6 separate regions of the Homo sapiens genome follow, and all the other regions are linked to region 2. The links are contacts of gene promoters, found by promoter capture Hi-C in blood cells and fetal thymus (Javierre and others, 2016). All regions are on one chromosome and are shown on one strand. Each heading gives the region's core, a stretch centred on a gene start or on the middle of the fragment in contact. The rest is flanking DNA. Distances are from core to core; before and after follow the strand shown. Region 1 overlaps FAM83D (family with sequence similarity 83 member D). Region 2 holds the start of RALGAPB (Ral GTPase activating protein non-catalytic subunit beta). Region 3 overlaps TTI1 (TELO2 interacting protein 1). Region 4 overlaps DHX35 (DEAH-box helicase 35). Region 5 overlaps RPRD1B (regulation of nuclear pre-mRNA domain containing 1B). Region 6 holds the start of ACTR5 (actin related protein 5).

Region 1 (3,775 bases), core at 356-2,855, 480 kb after region 2:
CCTCGAGGAACTCAATCTACAGAAGGGTCACCAGTCTCAAAAATGTCTGTATCGAGATCTTCCAGTTTGAAGTCTTCCTCCTCTGTGTCTTCCCAAGGCTCTGTGGCAAGCTCCACTGGTTCTCCCGCTTCCATCAGAACCACTGACTTCCACAATCCTGGCTATCCCAAGTACCTGGGCACCCCCCACCTGGAACTGTACTTGAGTGACTCACTTAGAAACTTGAACAAAGAGCGGCAATTCCACTTCGCTGGTATCAGGTCCCGGCTCAACCACATGCTGGCTATGCTGTCAAGGAGAACACTCTTTACTGAAAACCACCTTGGCCTTCATTCTGGCAATTTCAGCAGAGTTAATTTGCTTGCTGTTAGAGATGTAGCACTTTATCCTTCCTATCAGTAACTGCTCCGTGTTCAGACTCCTGGTTTCTTCCAGGCTTACAGTGGACATCATCAGCTTCCTGCTTTAAAAAATATCTTATGTCCCTAATTGCCTTTCTTTTACCTGACTTTGTCACCTTTGTTGTCTTTGAATTCTTTAGGCTGCATATTATTTTACATGCTTTGTTTTGTCATGTATATACCAGGTATTGGTTTTATGGTTTAAACACTATGGATACAGGGGTTTGTTTTGCACAATTTTAATAGTCATGCACTACATAATGATGTTTTGGTCAATGACAGACCACGTATATGTTGGCAGTCTCATAAGATTATAATACTGTATTTTTACTATACCTTTTCTGTGTTTAGATACAAATACCATTATGTTACAGTTGCCTACAGTATTCAGTGCAGTAACATGATGTACAGGTTTGTAGCCTGTTTTGCATTTTTCTTAGGTTGTATGCTCTTCTGTTTTAAAGGTTTGAATCACCAGCATTTTTGTGATCAAAATCCTATTTAGAAAAAATAAAACTACTTTCTGTTTATCTCTTTAGAATATCTGTGTTCTTAGCATTAAATAAATATAAACTTGTGCTTCTGTACTTTTTCCCCCCCTCTGACACTTTTCTCTTTAAATCTGGGAGTATGTCACAAATTAATGCACCTAATAGATATAGGTATATAGATATCTATATCTGAAGGTTTTTTAAATAGTGTCAGGGTGAGGAAGAAGTAGATGATCCAAACTATAGAAGAGAAAATAGATCCACTTAACCTTCCTCAGCATCATGAATATTGATGTTACTCTATAGTTTAAGTGAGGAAACTGGCCAGAAATAGCAGGCCTTTGCACATGCTCTGCCTTTTCTCTTTTCGAAGAAAAAGCCTGAGCTATTTCAGTAGGTCCTTGGTACTCTGGTACTCTGCTTGTCTACCAAAGGAGGCGTTAGTGTATGTTCCTATATTCATTCCCAATATTAACTCTGGTGGCCCCATGGGCCTCATTTCATCAGCTGGGTGTATTGACAGTGATTTAGCCATCTAATATCCCAGAGTAGGGGCAAAAGAGGACACTGACAATTATCCCAGTTTCCTGGTCCAGTGGCAGGCAGTGTAATGGTTTCTACATCCTTCTAATCAGGATTGGTATGGCTGTGGAATCCTGTTTTTGTCTCATTCTCATGGACAGACAAAAGGGAAGAGAGTTAAATGATGCCTTCCTCCCTCTCCTGACTTAGCTACAGCAAAAAAGATCTATAACAGGGGAAGGTGTCTGCCACATAAAATGCTGATGCACTTGTATCATGAGTGTCCCTACACTCACGCGTGTGCCAGGACTTCCTTATGATGGTCAGGCTATTTGCTGGGTTAGTGCTGTAATCTGTGGCTATAAAGAAAAGGAAAGGAAGGAAATTGATCCATGTCTGCTTAGAAACAACTCTGAGCTAAGCCTCGAGTAAACATATTGTTATTTGAAATCATCTTACAGACTTAAGTCACTTCATATATGCCATCTTTGATCTTTGCAGCAATGTAGCAGAGAGCTATGCAGGTTAGGTAGCTGTTATTTCCAATTTTCAGATGAAACTGAGGCACTGATTAAGTAGCATATTCAAGATGACATGGCTTGTAAATGGTGATGCAAGAATTTAAACACAGGTTTCTAGATTCTAAGTGCAGTACTCTGTTACATGACTATTTCTCTACACGGAGTATGGAAGCAGGAGAGAGTGTACCTTGAGAAATGGCAGTTACTGCAATGGTGAATGGAAAACTAAAACAGCCTCATTAACAAACGTTAAGTACAGGCTGGGCGCGGTGGTTCACGCCTGTAATCCCAGCACTTTGGGAGGCTGAGGTGGGCGGATCACCTGAGGTCAGCAGTTTGAGACCAGCCTCAACATGGAGAAACCCTGTCTCTATTAAAAATACAAAATTAGCTGGGTGTGGTGGTGCATGCCCCTAATCCTAGCTACTCGGGAGGCTGAGGCAGGAGAATTGCTTGAACCTGGGAGGCGGAGGTTGTGGTGAGCCGAGATCACGCTATTGCACTCCAGCCTGGGCAACAAGAGCCAAACTCTGTCTCAAAAAAAACAAAACAAAAACAAAACAGCAAAAAAAGCAAAGTACAACAAAAAAAAGTAAGTACAAAGTCCTAATCTGTGATACTTCTTTTTGTTTGTTTTTGAAGCAGTCTCGTTCTATTGCTCAGGCTGGAGTGCAGTGGCACAATCACAGCTCACTATTTTTTTGTAAAGGCAGGGTCTCACTATGGTGCCTAGGCTGCTCTTAAACTCCTGGGCTCAAGTGATCCTCTTGCCTCAGCCCCTCAAAGTGCCGGGATTACAGGCATGAGCTACTGCATTCAGCCTGTGATAATGTATTTTAATTTAGTTTGAAATTTTAACTGAATGTTCTATGGAACTGTTAATAGGATGACATAACAAAGGTTCTGTGTTTAGTGTGAGAAACTGGGCCAAAGAAATGTAAACAAAGTTCTTTAATGCAGGACTACTCAGAACTCTGAAGTAATGATCACAGTGAATTTCTCAGAGCAGGGCAGGTATATGGCTTACCACAAACTACCTACCACAGAGTGCTCTTTTTGTGGAGCAGGACTCAAAACCATTATTCTCTGAAAGTGTGGCCAACAATTAGAAATAAGAGCAAGAGCCGGGCGCGGTGGCTCACGCCTGTAATCCCAGCACTTTGGGAGGCCGAGGCGGGCGGATCACGAGGTCAGGAGATCGAGACCATCCTGGCTAACACGGTGAAACCCCGTCTCTACTAAAAAAATACAAAAAATTAGCCGGGCGTGGTGGTGGGCGCCTGTAGTCCCAGCTACTCGGGAGGCTGAGGCAGGAGAATGGCATGAACCCAAGAGGCGGAGCTTGCAGTGAGCCGGGATAGCGCCACTGCAGTCCAGCTTGGGCGAAAGAGTGAGACTCCGTCTCAAAAAAAAAAAAAAAAAAAAAAAAAAAGAAGAAGAAGAAAAAAGGCCGGGCGCGGTGGCTCACGCCTGTAATCCCAGCACTTTGGGAGGCCGAGGCGGGCGGATCACGAGGTCAGGAGATCGAGACCATCCCGGCTAAAACGGTGAAACCCCGTCTCTACTAAAAATACAAAAAATTAGCCGGGCGTAGTGGCGGGCGCCTGTAGTCCCAGCTACTTGGGAGGCTGAGGCAGGAGAATGGCGTGAACCCGGGAGGCGGAGCTTGCAGTGAGCCGAGATCCCGCCACTGCACTCCAGCCTGGGCGACAGAGCGAGACTCCGTCTCAAAAAAAAAAAAAAAAGACAAAAAAAAAAGAAATAAGAGCAAGAGATACATGGAGTCCTAAGAAAATGACCCAGTCTCTCAAAGTAAGCAGTCTTTCTGGAGTTGAGTCCA
Region 2 (3,900 bases), core at 542-3,041:
ACACAATTTTGCCCATTTTAATTAATGGGAAAAATTTAACAGCTTTCCACTTAGAAGCAGAATTTCAGGAATGAATTGAAACCACTAGAAGGGTGATAGCTGTATTTTCATCATCTCCCCAAGGGCTTTGGGACAGCTTTCCCATCCTCTGTGCCTGTCACTTTTCCAATTCCCATCACCCGTTGTTCTTCCAGTTAGTCACCCCTCCCTTGTCTGTTACAGGGGTTCAGTATTAATTGTGTTAGAATGCATCTGGTTGCAAGTAACATAAAACTCAACAAACTCTGGTATATATAAGATCCCTCATCCCGATAAGACAGGAAGGTAGTACAGGGTTTGTGTAGCTGCTTGAGTATGACTTAAACAAACAGGCTCCTGTCTTTCTGCTCCACCTTCCTCAGCACAGCCCTCCTCATGGCCTCTAGGCTGCTGTGCTCCCAGGTGTTACCCAGTTCCAAGCATGAAGCAGGGGAAAAGTGAAGGACACAAACTTCTCCAAGGGAAGAAGGAAGGGAAGGTCTCCTTTGATACTTCTGCCTACATCTCAGTGGCCAGGACTTTGTCTCACTGCCACCCTTAGCAGCAAAGAAAGTTGAGAGTTGTGTGCTTTGCTTTTCAGCCCCTGTAGTATAGAAAGGCAAGGGAGTGGTTGAAATAGATCTTGAGTTAGCCAACTACATAATTTGTCACACTGTGTTTAATTGAAATGTATTGCTTGGATCCAGTGTCCTGGACATAGCCTCGTTCCTGTCCTAGCACATTCTTACCCTCCTTTTCCCTCTTCCTTCCTGTAGCTATTTTTCTGGGGGGTGAGGTGTGGTCTTGAGGAAACACTCTTCAGTTTTACCCTTTCTGTGAGGATACTAGTTCCCTTATCACTCATTCCTCCATAGTCTCTTCTAACTGAGGTGAGGAGTCAGAATCTTCTTTGCTCCCTTCTGCTTTTCAGACAACCGTGCCTTCACCTCTACTCAACACCCTGACCCCTCCTCCCTCTCTCAATACCCAAGGTCAGTCTCAAGGCCAGGTCCTCCGTGAAGAATTCCACCATCCCTCCCTCCTCTTCTTTCTCAGTCCAAGTTTCCTCCTTTAGATTCTCAAAGCACTTAAGCTGTACCTCTCCAATGGTATTATTTTCTTCGTTGAAGTGAAAGCAAATTATTGAAAGTGGTACTGTTTACAAAATGTCTAGCGCATGGCAGGTGCTCGAAGTAGTATCTCTTAGTATTATTACTACTGTCTTATCTCGATCAGATTCAGCTCTTTAATGAGAGGCTCTAAATCTTATGTTCGATTCACCTTTGTAACCCACACCGGGCCTGGAATAGAGCACTGTTCATAATTAATGCTGTGCCCGTGTAATAAGACGGCGGCGAGCAAAGGGCATCATTTCAGAGGAAGAGTGCTGTAATGGTGGGATGGGAGAAATTCCTAGAACCTAGGTGGGAGCCAGAATCTTGCAGAGAAGCCCCTTATCCGTCTGCACCGAAAGCAGGTAGAGTGGATGCCGTAAGATTCCTAAGGACGCAGGTAGAGCGCCTCCTCTGTGCCGCGATGAGGTAGGTGCATCCGTCACTTCACTCCTCCCTCTCCACTTGATCCGGAATGGGAGGAACGCAATGCGTCCCGCGCGGCGATCTGGGATAGCTGCGCAGGCGCAGCTTCCGGCTCTGTGTCTCGGGAATTATTTGACGCCACCGGTTCAGCCCCGTAGAAAGCTCTGATTAGGCGCACCGCGCACGCGCAGTGGCCCACTTGGCTGGGGAGTTATTTGACGCCGCCGCCCCTGGCAGTCGGAAGTTGCCTGAGCAGATCCCAGCCGGCTGGCTCGAGTGGCCTTCGTCGTCCCTTGGCGCCCTGGGAGAGTCGCTGACGGGTGGACTGACGGACCGCCTGAGGACGGCCGGCCAGGGCGGTGAAAGCGCCAGCCCTATGGCGCGGGTCGCGTGAGGCGGAAGGCCGAGGACGGCCGGCGGCGGCGCCCGCCCCGGCGATGCGGGCCCCGCCCGTCGCCTCAGGTAACCGGGCAGCCGGCCCCGCCGCGGCCGGACCCTCCCCTCTCCTTCCCTCTCTTCCCCACCTGGCGGTCAAGGGACGGCTGAGGCTTGTTTCTCGGCTCTGGGTGCTCCAGGGGCCCGGCCTTTGGAAGCTCATCTGCAAATTTTTGGGAGACCCACGGGGGCGGGGAAAGCTTGGCCCTGGAGTGGGCGGCTGCTGTCGAGTCTGTGTAAACCCGGTCTAATCCTTGGGAGCTACCCCGGCCAGGCGAAGCTCTCTCCTGGCAACCTGGGGGAGGGGGCGGGTCTGGAGCGGAGCTAGACAACTCCCGCAAAGAATTTGGTCCAGCAGAAAGGTTAGGCAAGTTGCTGCCGCCCAGTGGGGACGATGCTGCCCATTGCACAGTGACACTTTGATGAGGGAGAGTTGATGATGGGAGTAAACAGCTAACCCCCATTAAGCGCTTCTTATCCGCCAGGCATCATGCCAGGCCATTACGTTCTCCACGTCTAACTTCACAGCAACCCTGTGAGGTAGGATTGTTGTCCCCATTTTACTGACGAGGCAACTGAGTCCCTGGGTGGTTGGGTGACTTAATTACCCAAGGTCACATAGCTAGTAATTTGAACCGGAGCATCCGACCCAAGTGCTTAACAATTAGGGCAGTGGCTCTCCAACTTTGCTACACTGTAGAATCACCTGGGGGAAATTGTAAAGGTTTCTGATGCCCATGTGGCATCCCAGACCAAAACAATCAGAATGTCTGGAGTTGAAAGCCAGACTTCAATATTTTTTTTTTAAAGATGCCCAAGTGATTCCAGCTTGCAGCAAAGTTTGGGAACCGCATGTAATTTGATAATTCTGCATCTCAAAAAGCATCTCTCTTTCTCCAGCTTAAGTGTGCAGGAGAATTGTCTGGGAGCTTGTTAAACTTGCAGGTTCCACCCGCAGAGATCTTTAGGTTGACTGACCACTACACCTTGTGAAAGACTGTTAGGGATGGAATTCTCTGCAGGGATTCTGAGTCATCTGGAACATTTAAAATGTATGCATCTTATGCAAACTGCTCGTTTGCAATTTTCCTAAATATACAGTACTTATAGGTGTAGCGTCTGTAACCTCTGGGTCGTTTTTACATATGCTGGAAGTCTGCCTAGACCATCCTCTGAACGTTCTGGCCATCCCACCCAAACGCACACACTTCTGCTCTCTCCTATATGCATATACACACCCTTTTCTTTTCTTTCTTTCTTTTTTTTAGACAGAGTCTTGCTCTGTTGCCCAGGCTGGAATGCAGTGGCATGATCTTGGCTCACTGCAACTTCCGCCTCCTGAGCTCAAGCAGTCCTCCCACCTCAGCCTCTCAAGTAGCTGGGACTACCACGCTTGGCTAATTTTTGAATTTTTTTTGTAGAGATGGGGTTTCTCCATGTTGCCCAGGCTGGTCTCAAACTCCTGGGCTGAAGCAGTCCACCCACTATGGTCTGCCATAGTGGTGGGATTACAGATGCGAGCCACTGTGCCAGGCCTACATACCCTTTTCTTCCTGTCTCTGGCTGCATTAGCTTTAAGCATTCCCTTCAAGATACCTCTGTCCCTGACCCCTACCCACCTTGAGTCCTTCCAATTTGCTCTTTAGGAACATCGTAGTGAAACTTATCAGTTATTTTTCTGAGTTGTAGTTCTATCCCTACTTCTAGATTATGAGAAGCTTTAGGGCAGGGACTATGTTTTCTTCATCTCTGTATTCCTTCCAGTGCTTTGACATACAGACTCACAAAGCTTTTACTCAGTGGAATGTTTGGGTCCTTTTATGTCATAGATAGATCATGTTGCGAACAGATTCTTCTCTATTTCCATTTTTGTAAAAGATGTTTGGTAGTTCCCAGCTTATAGAGTTTT
Region 3 (3,528 bases), core at 716-3,215, 450 kb before region 2:
TATCTAAAGAAAATAATTCCCAACTTTGATTTTTTTTTTTTTTAATCTATGGACTAGGGAACCAACTTTGAATTTTACAGCCTATAAAAACAACATCTTTCAATAAAAAGGTAAGGCTGGGCATGGGTGGCTCACACCTATAATCCCAGCACTTTGAGAGGCTGCGGTGGGTGGATCACTTGAGCCCAGGAGTTTGAAACCAACCTAAGCAACATGGCGAAACTCCATCGCTACAAAAAATACAAAAATTACCTAGGTGTGGTGGTGTGCACTAATAGTCCCAGCTGCTAGGGAGGCTCAGTTGGAAGGATCGATTGAGCCTGGGAGGTTGAGGCTGCAATGAGCTGTGATTGTGCCACTGTACTCTAGCCTCGGTGACAGAGTGAGCAGGTCTAAAAAAAAAAAAAAACAAGGGTGAAATTCAGATATTTACAACAAACAAAACCTGAGGGAATTCATTGCTATCAGGGCAACACTAAAAGAAAAAACAATGTAAGAAAATAAACCTAGACAGAAGCATGGAACTATAAGAGGGAATGAAGAAAATGAAATAGGTAAATATAAAAAAATTAACTGTACAAAACAATAACTATTATGTCTTCTGTAGTTTGTGTATATATAAAACTAAAATGCAAGACAAGAATAATTCACAAAAGGTAGGGAGGGGGAAGGAGTTAAGTGTCTAAGAGTCTAGTAGTGTAATGAAGTGATAAAATAATCTGTATTAGACCATAACATGTCAAGATGTTAAATGCATGTTGAAATCTGTAGAGTAAGCTCTAAGATAATTGTAAAAGAATAGCTACCTAACAAGATTACAGGGCAGTAAAAAATGGGATACTATTTTTGATTAATCAAAAAAAGGGCAAAAATGCAAAAAAAAAGAAATAAAACTAGTGAGCCAAATTGAAAACAAAAAGTAAGATGGCAGACAGAAGTCTGAAGTACAACTAAAACAGCGATTACATTTGTGCAGAGTTTCTCAACAGCAGCACTATTGACATTTTGGGTGGGATAATTACTTGTTGGTGGAGGGCTGTCTTGTGCATTGCAGGGCATTTAGCAGCATCCTTGGCCTCTGTATCTTGGCCATCCATCTATCTGCTGCTAGTAGCACCAACCCAGGTGTAACAAACAAAAATGTCTCCAGACATTGCTAGATGTCCTGTCAAGGACAAAAATTGTCCCTGGATTTGGTACCATTGGTAGAGTCAGCATAATCCTAATCAAAATCCCAGTAGGATTTCTGCAGAAATATGATGAGTCTAAAACTGATAGAGAAATGCAAAGGACCCAAAATAGAAAAGACAATCTTCAAAAATAAGAATGCAGTTACAGAACTTACACTAACTGATTTCAAGGTTTACTATAAAGATACAATAATTAAAGGACAGTGTATACTTGGCATAAAGAAAAATGAACAGAACAGAGTTCAGAAATAGACCACACATAGAATAGAGAGTCCAGCTACACACCTGACAAATATGACAGTAAAATGAAGGGGTGAAAAGAATGGCCTTTTCAATTAAAGGTGCTATGTCACTTGGCTACTCATATGAAAAAAAAAAAAAATATATATATATATATATATATATATATATGTATGTATCTTGATTCCATCACATCCTATTTAAATGTGAAATGTAAAACAATAAAGCTTTCCAAAGGAAACAGACAAGAACATCTCTGTGATCCTGGAGTAGGCAAAGATTTCTTAAATAGGACACAAAAAGAAAAAAACTGATAAATTGGACTACCTTAAAATTTAAGAACTTCTCTTCATCAGAAGACACTATTACAGAGTGAAAAGGCAATTCAAAAAGTGACAGAAGATACTTGCTATATATCTGACAAAACACTCATATCTATAATATACAAAAGATTTTTAAAAAATCATTTAAAAAAGGAAAGACAACCTAACAGAAACATGAAAAAGGACCTGAATAGACATATCACAAAAAAGGATAGCCAAATAGCCAATAAACATATGACAAGACTTTAAATATCATTAGTCAGGAAAATGCAATTTAAAACCACAATGAAATATCATTACACATCCATGAGAAGAGCTAAATTTAAAAAAGGGAAAATACTAGGTGCTGGCAAGGATACAAAGCAACTAAAACTCTCATTCAATGCTGGTGGGCGTATAAATCAGTGCAGCTAGTACGGAAAACTCGTTGGCAGTATCTATTATTTCAAAGGTGAATATATATATGCTCTATGATCTAGCAATTCCATTCTTTGATATATACCCAATAGAAATGTACATATAAGCTTATCAAAAGATATATTCTGGAATTTACTATACACAATCACCCTAAAATGAAAACTACCTCAATGCCTATCTGTAGTAGAATGGATAAATAAACTGTAGTACATTCTATGAAATACTATACAGATGAAGATTTACCACAATCAGAGATCTTCAAAAGTCTGGGTTATAGGCTCAGAAATATATAAACCAGCTTTCTCTAAGGAAGACAGCATAACACATTGCTACTTTGGCATAACACATTGCTACTTTGACATGACTATAAAAGGCAATCATATAGCTTTATGGGATGGCCATGAAATCACAGTTGTGTGACAATATGTCAATTACAGAAAGAATTGTTTAGAGATTTAGAGCCTTAGGAATCCTACATTCTATTCCTATAAAATGCAACCCTGATTACTTAGAGTGGTGCTGCACCAAAGTTTGATATTTATAACCAACAGCAACAGGGGCATTCTGGTCCAGAAAGTTATACTGGGATGAGGCATTCAGAACAAACGGATTCTCTGGATGAGTAGACAAAACCACCCAGAGCTCAGAGTGACTGAATAAACATGAATAAACATAAGCATGAGCAAACAGTTCTTGACTGCTAATGGACACCTAATCCCTTTCTAGTTTAGTGGCCCTCCACTGTGGTCCTGGAAAGTAGTTGGCAAGTAGGCACTGGAGAGGTGGGAGATGAGATCTGTGATTGGACAGCATGAATGAACTCACTGCCCCCGGCAAGCCTATTCCCCTCCCCTCTACCTAACTTGTAACAGGGGTGGGCTATAAGTAAGATCCCTGGGCCATGGTGTAAAGGTGGTGAAGACAAATGGAACAATCTGTACAGGAGACGGTGTTATACTTTACAGATACTTAGATCCCAAGGTACTTACTGTATCACACAATCAAGAAGTGAAAAAGGGAGGGGAAAAAGTGCAAAAGGAATTTGGAAACAGAATGAATACGAACAAGGAAGAGGGAGAAGGATCTGTGTTGAGCTGGGGTACTATACACTTTGGGCTATGTGAGAAGGCTGCTCAAGGTGCAAGGCCTGTCACAAGCAAAGGCCAGAAGGGAGAAAAGTCATAGCACCTAATAAAGGCAGAGATGAGACAGAGATGCCATTGTGGCAGGTGAGCCAGGCCTCACACATCCATTCAGATGAAATCATTTGGTCAGGGCCTTTGCACTTGCTGTTCTCTCCCCCATGTCCTCAGGGCTCGCTCCTTTACCACTTTCAGGGCTTTGCTCAAGTGACGCCT
Region 4 (3,653 bases), core at 271-2,770, 500 kb after region 2:
GTTGTAAGCGTGAACCCTGGCACTGCCGGCAGCCGTCTTTCCAGCTCCTGTACAGTAGCCAACCTAAGGGGCTGGAAGGAACCTGCAAGACGTGCCAAGATGAGAGAAGGAGAAAGCCATGGCTGCTTTGAGTGCCCAGTTTCTGTCATCTCTGAGCCTTATTGCCATCCTACAGTAACAAGATTCATCCTTTTACCTCAGCTAATTCCCACTGGGTTTCTTTCACTTCTGTTAAGAATTCAGTAATAACATGGACATGGAGGCCAGAAGTAAAGACACTGTGCTCTGTAATACACAGTTCTGAGTGGCCAATTTGGAGCCCAGTGGGACTGCCATCTCGTTTCTTTTTTCTTTTTTTTTGGAGACAGAGTCTTGCTCTGTCGCCCAGGCTGGAGTGCAGGGGCCCGATCTTGGCTCACTGCAACCCCTGCCTCCTGGATTCAAGCAATTCTCCTGCCTCAGCCTCCCGAGTAGCTGGGACTACAGACACACACCGCCATGCACGCCTGGCTAATTTTTTGTATTTTAGTACAGGTGGGGTTTCACCTTGTTGCCCAGACTGGTCTCTAACCCCTGAGCTCAGGCAATCCGCCCGCCTCGGCCTCCCAAAGTGCTGGGATTACAGGCGTGAGCCACTGCACCTAACCCTGTCTTGTTTGTTTTTGACACTGCAGTGAAGCTTTTAGGGAAGATTTTTAGTTCCTCGTAGGCACTTTTCTGGATTCTTTCCTAAAGTTAAGGTTGAATACCTTTGAGTAGTTTGAGATAAAAAGTATTGCTTCTTCTGTATATCTTCATCTTTGAAAGTTTATAAACTTAACACCTTTTTCTGTTCATTGTATCAGAGAATCTGAAAAAAAAACATTTCTGCTGCAGGTACAGAGGGGCCAGGTGTAAGCATCTCTGAAGAGAGACAAAGTCTGGCTGAAAACTCTGGGACAACGGTTGTTTACAACCCTTATGCTGCCCTTTCCATAGAGCAGCAGAGGCAGAAGCTGCCGGTATTCAAGGTACGTCAAATAATCATGTTCAACCTGTGGGCTTGAATCGTGTGTCTGCATTAGCTTTATGCTCAGCACTGAAGGGAATGATGGCCTCTTTCTAGAACACAGTGAGCTCAGAGAAACCCTTACTGTAAGGGATGACTTTTCATACTGTGTATTTTTTAGTTAACCTTATAAATCTTGAAAGTCCTTAAGATTTTTTCAGTTGCATCGTACATACTGGAAAACTGGAGGAATTAGAATGACTTTTGTTTTCCCCTTTATTCCTTTCAGCTGTGGACAATTTCAGATATACAGAAAAGTAGAGAAAATAGCAGTTAATTTCTATATAACAGATTACCAACATATGGCCAATTTTTGCTTTATTTTTAAAGTCACTCCTTTAAACAAGTTTAATTGGGAATATGAGGTTGTTTCTGCTGAAGACATCAGTTAATACTCTGACTTCCTCTGAGACAGTGACAGGATTTTGGTATGGTTACTACTTACCAAGTGCACATCCAGACACTCAGTTTTATTAGCGCTCACGAAACAGATGTGTGCTCAGCTACAAGAGACCAAAGTGCAAACTAGAATTCATTCAGAACTGTTCATTTATGGCTAGCAATAATTCTCCAGTACAGATGGACACAGTTGACATATACACTTTGTCCCTGTTGGCACATCCACATGGGAAGCCAAATTGTAATCAGGAAGTACAGAGCCAAGACAGGTTACAGAAATGTCATACAGCCCCTGATGAGGGGTGAATTCTCCCTGCTCCACAGGATGCCCTTGGAATGACCCGAGTAGGTGTGGCCACCAGCATCTGTGTCTCTTTCTTTCTCCTGGACGGTGCTGGGTGAAAGTTGCTGTGTTCTATCTATCTGTCTGTCTGTCTGTCTGTCTGTCTATCTATCAGACAGGGTCTTCCTATATTGTTCAGGCTGGTCACGAACCCCTGAGCTCAAGCAGTTCTCCTGCCTCGGCCTCCCAAAGTGCTGGGATTACAGGTGTGAGCAGCCAAAAGGTGCCAAGTTCTTATACTCATGGAGTTCTTTTGACTAGACTGTGCTGATAATTCCTCTTCTATTAATGTGTTCTTTCTCCAAACAGATAGGCAACAGCAGCCTTCTTAATTTAGCCAGATTGCCTTACTTGGAGTTTTATGTGGCTCCCAATATTTTAGTCACAAGTGAACTGACTGTCTCTGGGTTTCTTCCTCAAGTGACTAACACATTCACTATGTATGAATGTTAGCAAGTTTGACTTTCAGGAGATGAAATGATAGGTTTACTATTGCTTTCTCACCACTGAGGGACAGTTTGAGCTGTGATGAAGTGTCCGGACTCTGGAGCTAGACTTCAGGGTTCAAACCCAAGCTTCACCATTTGTGTGCTGTGTGACCTCACTTCTCCATTCTGAGCTTCTTTTCTTTATCTGTGATGTAGGACTACAGGAGCACCTACCTCATAGGACTGTTATGAGGACCAGATGAGATCATCCATGCAGAGCATTTAGCAAGATACCTGACATGTAGTAAATGCTCAAGTACAAGGGAAATTACTGTTTACTCAAGTATTTAAATTTTGGCCTTTTCTTGACTATTCTTTGTCTCCCAACTGTACTTACAAGATAACATAAATGAAACAGCAAATGAAAAAAAAAAAAGCAACAAGAAGTTAAGAAATGTTTATGAAATTAAAATGGTAAGAAGAAGGGTGTAAGTTACTGATATAAAGCAAAGCAGAGTTTAAGTACAGTTGAGATCTTATAAGATGTTGAAGATGAATCGAGACAAAAAGGAAAACAAGTTACCTCTACGCCATCCTTTTTCCCTTTCAAACAAAAAGTAAAAGTAGCTTTAAAAACAGAAATTGGAGGCTCGGTGTGGTGGCTTACGGCTGTAATCCTATAGGCTTTGGGAGGCTGAGGCGGGTGGATCACTTGAGACAAGGAGTTCGAGACCAACCTGGCAAACATGGTGAAACCCCATCTCTACTAAAAATATAAAAAATTAGCCGGGCGTGGTGGCACATGTTTGTAATCCCAGCTACTTGGGAGGCTGAGGCAGGAGAACTCTTGAACCCGGGAGGTGGGGGTTGCAGTGAGCCAAGATTGCACCACTGCACTCCTGCCTGGGCAACAGAGCGAGACTCCATCTCAAAAAACAAAACAAAACAAAACAATGTTGGAACTAAAGCATCAAGAGATTGTTAAAGATCACTGCCTCTTCCCCAGCACCATTATGAGGCCACCTGTTCCCTTGTCTGCCTTCTTTAGGCTGCTGTATAGACAATAGTGACTCTATCTTGGATGCAAGTCTGCCATGTTCACTTCTGTTTAGACCCAGTCTTATAAATGCCTCCTGATTTCTGCTTTGTATATTGTCCTTAGTGTAAGAACATGTCAACCTCTCTGGGGGCAGCACTATTGACAGCTTCTTGTTTTGTTTTGTTTTTCCCCAAAAACAGTCTACGCATAAACAAGTAGATACGTGTTTGCCCTAAGAAGAATGCAGTTACTAGGGTATTATTCACACTGTTCTACATCTCACTTCCTTTTCTTAACATATCTTATAGTTCATTCCATATCAGTACAAGTAGATATTTCCTCTTCTTAATAACTACAAATTATTCCATTATTGGAATATTTTATGACTGATTTAAC
Region 5 (3,761 bases), core at 381-2,880, 430 kb before region 2:
GTCCCCCAGGATTGGGATGGAGGGGTGTGCATGTTGTGTGTATTGTGACTGTGTGTGCTCAAGAGCTCTAGGGTTTTGTCATATCACCTTGACACACATGGTGCTTATGTTGACTGTTGAGGATGTTGAATATGGAGGGATACAGTTTATCCTAAATAAATCCCCATTGTTAAGTTCTGGGGTGATGAAAATTAATTGGCATTGTAAACAGTGAAAACCTTGGGTCTCAAGCCCCTTAGATACCTTGTTTGTCTACTGAGAAGTATATATCAGGTCTTGAATGTCCACACTGACATTTTACAATATGGATTCTAGGTTTTTTTTTTTTCAACATAAAGTGTATGGAATTTTAAAGCTTCACTTAATGAAATTTGCTTTGTTGAAGTTCTGTTTTGCTTTCGAATCTGCTAACTTGCATGGGATTATAGGTGTAGTAGTTTCACTTACATCAACTTTGCAGAGCAAGGTTTGCTTTAACAAAAAAGCACGTTTTGCCATAATCATACCTTTGTAGCAACAGTAGATATTGTAACTACTGACACTTTTGTTCTGCTTTTGAATAATAATTAGAAAGTTGAAGAAAGCTCCAGGTTCCTAGTATTCTTATCAGTTGGCCATCTAAACTAGGTTATTACCAGAAGGTTAAGACAATTCAGGGTATCCATATTTAATTTTATGAGCATTTAAGACATCAGTTTCATCAGTTTAAACTGTAATGTGCTATTAAAATCATGTTTTTAACTTGGGTTACTCTCCTGTAGCTACATTTTTTTTTTTTTTTTTGAGACGGAGTCTCTTACTCTGTCACCCAGGTGGGAGTGCAGTTGGCGCGATCTCGGCTCACTGCAACCTCCGCCTCCCAGGTTCAAGTGATTCGCCTGCCTCAGCCTCCCAAGTAGCTGGGTTTACAGGCGCCTGGCACCACGCCCGGCTGATTTTTTTTGTTTTGTTTTTTTTTTTTTTTTTTTTTTTTGAGACAGAGTCTTGCTCTGTCACCCAGACTGGAGTGCAGTGGTGTGATCTCGGCTCACTGCAAGCTCCGCCTCCTGGGCTCACCCCATTGTCCTGCCTCAGCCTCCTGAGTAGCTGGGACTACAGGCGCCCGCCACCACGCCTGGCTAATTTTTTGTATTTTTAGTAGAGACAAGGTTTCACCATGTTAGCCAGGATGGCCTTGATCTCGTGACCTCAGGTGATCCACCTGCCTTGGCCTCCCGGAGTGCTGGGATTACAGGCGTGAGCCACTGTGCCCAGCCTCCTGTAGCTACATTTTAAAATGTCAGATCTTATGCCTGCTATGTCAGACATATCAATGCTTTGTACATTTCAAAAGAAACAACTGGTTTCAGAGAGAAATAGAGTTACTCAGGTGTGTTAAGGTTGATAAAGAGCTTGTGTTTTTCAGGTACTTTAGCATTGGAGAAAACTTTGTGTTTTGAAACATCTAATTATGTTCTTATTTATTTCTTTTAAAAGAAAATTGGAACCAAAAATTGTAGGGATGTAACTTTATAGTTGAGAAATTATGTGCATAGAAGCCAGGGAATTCAGTAATGTTCCCCAAAGCAACTGTAACTCAGACATATTGCACGAGGTTTTTATGGTTTAATATATGATACCATATAGAGTAATAGGGAATAACCACATTTCATATAAATAAGAGAGAATTATGGTTTTTGTGAAAGCCCTAATTTTGCATATCTAGATTTCACACGTGTGTAAATTTTCAATAAGAGTGTAGTGTTAATGTATACTTGTATTTGAGCTAATATCTATTGGTGCACCTAGAGATTCTTCTATATTATTGATTATGGTTATTGGAGTATCAGAGAAATTCTCAGTTTAGGAGCAAAATTACAAGAAACCTTTTTTTTTTTTTTGAGACGGAGTTTTGCTCTTGTTGCCCAGGCTGGAGTGCAACAGCATGATCTAGGCTCACCACAACCTCTACCTCCCGGATTCAAGCGATTCTCCCACCTCAGCCTCCTGAGTAACTGGGATTACAGGCATGTGCCACCACGCCAGGCAAATTTTGTATTTTTAGTAGAGACGGGGTTTCTCCACGTTGGTCAGGCTGGTCTCAAACTCCCGACCTCAGGTGATCCGTCCATCTCGGCCTCCAAAAGTGCTGGGATGACAGGCATGAGCCACCACGCTCGGCGAAACCATTTTAAAATTGAAACCTAACTCAGTCTTTTTTTTTTTTTTTTGAGACAGAGTCTTGCTCTATTGCCCAAGCTGGAGTACAGTAGTGCAATCTCGGCTCACTGCAACCTCCACCTCCTGGGTTCAAGCGATTCTCCTGCCTCAGCCTCCTGAGTAGCTGGGACTACAGGTGCCCACCATCACACCCGGCTAATTTTTGTATCTTTAGTAGAGGTAGGGTTTCACCATGTTGGCCAGGCTGGTCTCAAACTCCTGACCTCAAATGATCCACCCACCTCGTCCTCCCAGAGTGCTGAGATTACAGGCATGAGCCACTGCGTCCGGCCAACTCAGTCTTTCATTCTGAAATATTTGATAATTAAAAGTGAGTTAGAAGTTGCTCATTTTTGCAGTAGAATAAATAAAAGCCCTAGTTTCAACATTAACACTGACTGCTTATCCTTTAGGAATTCTCTTTGGATTATCTTAATTTTTACTATCAATTAATTACCCTGGTTTAAACAACACAGCAATGAAGATGGCCCATTCTTTTTCTTTTTCTTTTTTTTTTTTCCGAAATGGTATTCCCAAACCTATTCCTTAGGTGGTCTTTTTAAACATATCTACTTGACCCCCCAGGTAGATAATACTTGTCTTAATGTTTTTTTAGGAGCAGCCCAGGGCAAAAGAATTGTGAATTGAGAATTTCTTTGGTGTAAGTTAAATTCTTTTCTTTTCTTTTTTTCAGCCAAATCAAATAGAAAGCTTACTTTTCTGTATTTAGCGAATGATGTCATCCAAAACAGTAAAAGGAAAGGACCTGAATTCACTAGAGAATTTGAATCTGTCCTTGTGGATGCTTTTTCTCATGTTGCCAGGTATGTTGTCTGTTTTTTGGATTTGTTTTTAAATTCATTGCCTTTCCCACCTTTTTGTTCTTTCCTTTTCTGTGATAGCCTTTGTAAATTGACAACTTCCTACTTTACAGAGAGTTGTGGAGGCCGAATTGTGGTTTTATGTTTTGTTGAGCCCTCAAGAACTATCGAGACATGTAAACATTCTGATACATTTGAGAGATTCAGCCTAGCATTATCTTTCTTCTAGATATATTCATTTTCATTTTTTGAATTTATTTCTTGGTTATGGTATTTTCCTTGGTTTGGTTGAGTTGTCTCATCAGCTTATGATCAAAAAACAAAGCTAACTAGTAAGGGAACCTTTTAGTAACATAACTTAATAGCAAGAAATTAATTGCCAAATGCCTTCCTTTTTATTTCCTTCTGGATTTCTAGATGTCTAGTTTACTAAAAATAGTAGGCATTACTGTAACTGCAATAATAGTAATTATTAGTGTAGAAAGTAGGTGTTTGCTCTGGCTATATTGTATTAAGCCTGGTGCTGTTGTGTTTTGTGGCAGAGAGGAGTGGCACTCATACAACTAATACCATAGAAAGCATACATTGGATTAAAAGTTTTATAAATTACTTTACTTCATGTAAAAACAAAAGCTTTCTGTGGGCTTAAATTAGGTGCCCAGGAAAAGCAAAGAAAAACTATCGTTCATTAGAATATTATGTTTATAAGTAAATATATAAACAGATATTTGCAAAAGGAAT
Region 6 (3,692 bases), core at 957-3,456, 280 kb after region 2:
CTCCCACCTCAGCCTCCCAAAGTGCTGGGATTACAGGCATGAGCCACCACACTGGCCATCCCCGTTGGAGTTGCCTCTCATATATATATAAAATAATAATATATATAATATATATATTTACCTTGGTGCTTTTCTTTTTTTCTTTTTTGTGAGACAAAGTTTCACTCTTGTTGCTCAGGCTGGAGTGCACTGGCGTGATCTCGGCTCACTGCAACCTCCGCCTCCAGGGTTCAAGCGATTCTCTTGCCTCAGCCTCCCAAGTAGCTGGGATTACAGACACCTGCCACCATGCCCAGCTAATTTTTGTATTTTTACTAGAGACGGGGTTTCACCATGTTGGCCAGGCTGGTCTCGAACTCCCGACCTCAGGCGATCCACCAGCCTCGGCCTCCCAAAGTGCTGGGATTACAGGTGTGAGCCACTGCGCCCAGCCAGTGCTTTTTCATATTAATATACATAGACACAATTCTTAAATTAACATTCACTAACTTACATTTACTGGTTTCTGTGTTCTGCTGGTCCCCCTCTTAATTAACTTAACGATGGTTACTTCAGATATCTGAACAATGGACGTGTGTTGAAAGACAACACAACCTGATTTTTGCCACTGGGCTGGCTCCCAATCTGGTTTAGGTGTGTTAACAGGCTGGGCCCGTCGTCTCAAGCCTGTAATCCCAGCACTTTGGGAGGCCGAGGCAGGCGGATCACTTGAGCCAAGGAGTTCGAGACCAGCCTGGCCAACGTGGCGAAATCCCGTCTGTATTAAAAATAAAAAAAATTAGCTGGGTGTTGTGGAGCATGCCTGTAATCCCAGCTACTCGGGAGGCTGAGGCAGGTGAATTGCTTGAACCGGGGATGTGGAGGTTGCAGTGAGCCAAGATCACACCACTGCACTCCAGCCTGGGTGACAGAGCCAGACTCCGTCTTAAAAAAAACAAACAACAACAACAACAAACACTGTTAATAGAGGTTCTTGAGATAAGTTAGGAGTTTCATTTCTCGCTTACAATATCTTTTGTAACTAATTTGATTTTATCTCTCAAACTGAAGTGTTATAGACCTGGTAGAGTAGATTCAAGGCAGCTGCTCTATTCTTTTTCTTCTTTCAAAATGGTTATGGCCAGCATGGGCAACATAGTGAAATCCCTTCTCTACTAAAAATATAAAAATTAGCTGGGCGTGGTGGTGCACGCCTGTAATCTCAGCTACTTAGGAGGCTGAGGCGGGAGAATCACTTGAGTCCAGGAAGTCGAGGCTGCAGTGAGCCGAGATCGCCCCACTGCACAAAAAAAGGTTGTAGTAAAACAACTGCTCTAATTCTTACCCCCTTAGCTAGTGAAAAGATGGAAATGCGACAGGATAGAGCGCGACGAGTGCTTTTAGGGCTAAAACTGAGTGGGTCACACACATGGCCTCCTCTCCCACCCGCTCCTGGCCAGAATTTAGTCACATGAGCGCATCTAGATCGCAGCCAGACGGATGGCCACGTGGGAGTGGGAGGTGATGCCACTAAAAGAGAGGGAATGCTTGGGGAACAATCAGCAGTCTTTTCTCAGGGTTTGAGAAAACACTGTGTCTTAGTGAGAAGACACAGTCTGTGCGAGTTAGTAAAGTGAACAGAACTGAGTAGTCAGCTCCCTAGTCAAGAAATTGAACAGTCGGCAGAGTTTGAGATTTCTTAACGTAAAGGAAGCGTCAAAAGATAAAGGACCCTTCTAGCCAGGACGCAAGACTGAGGGCGAGACAGCCACGCGGAGGCGGGGCCGCCGGCGGTCGAAGGTGCGCGCCCGGCCGACGGTGCGCGCCCGGCCGACGGTGCGCGCCCGGCAATGGGGCGTGGCCAGGCAGAGAGGCGGGGCTCCACCGAGCGCGGCGCTGAAGCTGGCAGCCAGAAAGGGGCGGGGCCTGGCGGCGATAGGCTTTGGGGCGGGGCTTCCAAACCGGGCGTCCCGGCTAGAGTGAAGGGGCGTGGGCACTCATAGGCTATTGGGGGAGAGGTTAAGAAACGTAGAATTTCGCAGCCAGAATGGGTACGTCTCAGCGATCCTGAAAGCAGCCTTGACAGCCAGAGGCGAGTCAAGTGGAAAGGCTGGCCGGGCTTCGAGAAGGGAGGGGGCATCGAGGTACTTAAAGGCCTGAATCGCGCGGCGTGACGTCGGGGGCGCGGTTTCGCGGCGTCTGGGCGGACACTGCGCCGAGGGGCGGGGCTGGACGCGCGCTCCAAGATGGCGGCGAACGTGTTCCCGTTCCGCGACGCCCGTGCCGCACCGGACCCAGTGCTGGAGGCCGGCCCGGTGGCACACGGGCCACTGCCGGTACCGCTGGTGCTGGACAACGGGTCGTTCCAAGTCCGCGCTGGCTGGGCGTGTCCCGGGCAGGACCCAGGTCCCGAGCCGCGCCTGCAGTTCCGCGCGGTGTGCGCCCGCGGTCGTGGCGGGGCACGGGGCGCGTCGGGCCCGCAGGTGGGGAACGCTCTGGGCAGCCTGGAGCCACTGCGCTGGATGCTGCGCTCGCCCTTCGACCGCAACGTGCCGGTCAACCTGGAGCTTCAGGAGTTGCTGCTGGACTACAGCTTCCAGCACCTGGGTGTCTCCTCACAGGTGAAGGGCGGAGTAGGCTGGGCTGGGCTGGGTTTGAGGGGAGGGGTGCGGTCTCGTCTCCGCTCACTCTGCTCTCGGAGAGGTAACAGTCACTTCAGTAGCTCCGATTGTCTTTTAGTCGACCAGATGCTAGGCGCTGTGGGTGTAGCAGCGAATAAAATGCTGCTCCTTGTATCTTGGAGCATACCTTTGGGCATATATGCTTGTTTGTTAAGAAGCCCATTTATTAACAAATACGTATTGAGCACTTACTCTGTGTCAGGCACTTTTTAGGCATTTGGAGTACATGTGTGAACACAAAACTTCCTGTGCTTATGGAGCTGTTAATACTATGGAAAGATATTCTAGTATGAAAAGGCAGACAGTAAACATAGAAATAGTAGATTCTACGCCGTGATAGGAGAGGAGGGAGTTACATTTTTTCAGTAAGATGGTCAGGGTAGGACTCGTGAAGGTGATGTTTGAGCAAGGACTTGAAGGAGGTGATTCAGGTAGCAAGCCATGTGAATATCTGAAGGAAAAACGGTCCAGGCAGAGGGAGCAGCCAGTAAAAAGGCCCCGAGGCAGGAGTGTGCCCTAATCCTAACTGCAAGGCTGCCTGTGTGAGGGGGAGAGTAGTACCTGAAAGAGGATGTCAGAGAGGTAGTGGAGAGGCAGATCACACACCTTATAGGCTTTTACTGAGTGAAATGGGGAGCCATGGCAGGGTGTTGAGCTGAAGAAGGACCTGACTTGTGTTTTAAAAGGATCACTATTACTGCTGTATGGAGAATGAATTGTCTTGGATCATAGGGTGGAAACAGGGACGAGTTAGGAGGCTGTTGGAATAACCCAGGTAAGGGATGATGGTGGCTTAGATGAGGCAGATAGCAGGGAATGTCATTAGAAGCAGTTGGATTCTGGAAATACTTTGAAGATAGAGCCAACACGATTTGCTGACAGTTTGGATGGGACCTTGACTTAATAACTTAAATTGACTCTACTTTCGTATTTTCAAGTAAAGATGAGATGGGAGTTTTATAATCGCCTCTGATCAGGTTTTTGATTAAGAAGCCAAAAGCAAATTCAGTCCTGCAATAAGGATTTTGGGTT

Evidence for each region. Contacts are between HindIII fragments. The CHiCAGO score rates a contact against its expected background, and 5 or more counts as called.
Region 1: a fragment that was not itself captured here is called in contact with the fragment with the promoter of RALGAPB in region 2 in 1 of 17 cell types (naive CD8 T cells); the score reaches 6.7 in naive CD8 T cells.
Region 3: a contact is called between a fragment that was not itself captured here and the fragment with the promoter of RALGAPB in region 2, in 1 of 17 cell types (neutrophils). The highest score is 6.6, in neutrophils.
Region 4: a fragment that was not itself captured here is called in contact with the fragment with the promoter of RALGAPB in region 2 in 1 of 17 cell types (total CD8 T cells); the score reaches 5.3 in total CD8 T cells.
Region 5: a contact is called between a fragment that was not itself captured here and the fragment with the promoter of RALGAPB in region 2, in 6 of 17 cell types (neutrophils, monocytes, non-activated CD4 T cells and 3 more). The highest score is 15.9, in neutrophils.
Region 6: the fragment with the promoter of ACTR5 here is called in contact with the fragment with the promoter of RALGAPB in region 2 in 17 of 17 cell types (erythroblasts, naive CD8 T cells, fetal thymus and 14 more); the score reaches 13.0 in erythroblasts.

What each region holds. Positions count from the first base shown.
Region 1 is chr20:38,952,119-38,955,893 of GRCh38, forward strand. FAM83D (family with sequence similarity 83 member D) reads left to right here. Exons shown (of 4, transcript NM_030919.3): 4 at 1-988. The coding sequence ends at 402. Among named protein-coding and RNA genes, the nearest start is that of DHX35, 8.3 kb to the right of the region's middle. The HindIII fragment of the contact is 6,290 bases long and covers 1-3,775 here.
Region 2 is chr20:38,471,052-38,474,951 of GRCh38, forward strand. RALGAPB (Ral GTPase activating protein non-catalytic subunit beta) reads left to right here and starts at 1,792. Exons shown (of 30, transcript NM_020336.4): 1 at 1,792-2,018. RefSeq lists an enhancer at 1,513-1,582 and a silencer at 1,873-2,072. The HindIII fragment of the contact is 2,916 bases long and covers 1-2,189 here.
Region 3 is chr20:38,018,753-38,022,280 of GRCh38, forward strand. The region is part of intron 1 of TTI1 (TELO2 interacting protein 1); the gene reads right to left. Among named protein-coding and RNA genes, the nearest start is that of TTI1, 13 kb to the right of the region's middle. The HindIII fragment of the contact is 620 bases long and covers 1,656-2,275 here.
Region 4 is chr20:38,968,205-38,971,857 of GRCh38, forward strand. DHX35 (DEAH-box helicase 35) reads left to right here. Exons shown (of 22, transcript NM_021931.4): 2 at 877-1,010. Among named protein-coding and RNA genes, the nearest start is that of DHX35, 7.7 kb to the left of the region's middle. The HindIII fragment of the contact is 1,686 bases long and covers 678-2,363 here.
Region 5 is chr20:38,037,542-38,041,302 of GRCh38, forward strand. It overlaps RPRD1B (regulation of nuclear pre-mRNA domain containing 1B), which reads left to right. Exons shown (of 7, transcript NM_021215.4): 2 at 2,894-3,023. LOC124904898 (a long non-coding RNA gene) reads left to right here. Exons shown (of 2, transcript XR_007067579.1): 2 at 1-566. Among named protein-coding and RNA genes, the nearest start is that of RPRD1B, 5.7 kb to the left of the region's middle. The HindIII fragment of the contact is 2,555 bases long and covers 354-2,908 here.
Region 6 is chr20:38,746,254-38,749,945 of GRCh38, forward strand. It overlaps ACTR5 (actin related protein 5), which reads left to right and starts at 2,207. Exons shown (of 9, transcript NM_024855.4): 1 at 2,207-2,600. The coding sequence starts at 2,226. RefSeq lists silencers at 1,683-1,952, 2,253-2,442 and an enhancer at 1,803-2,304. The HindIII fragment of the contact is 9,906 bases long and covers 1-3,692 here.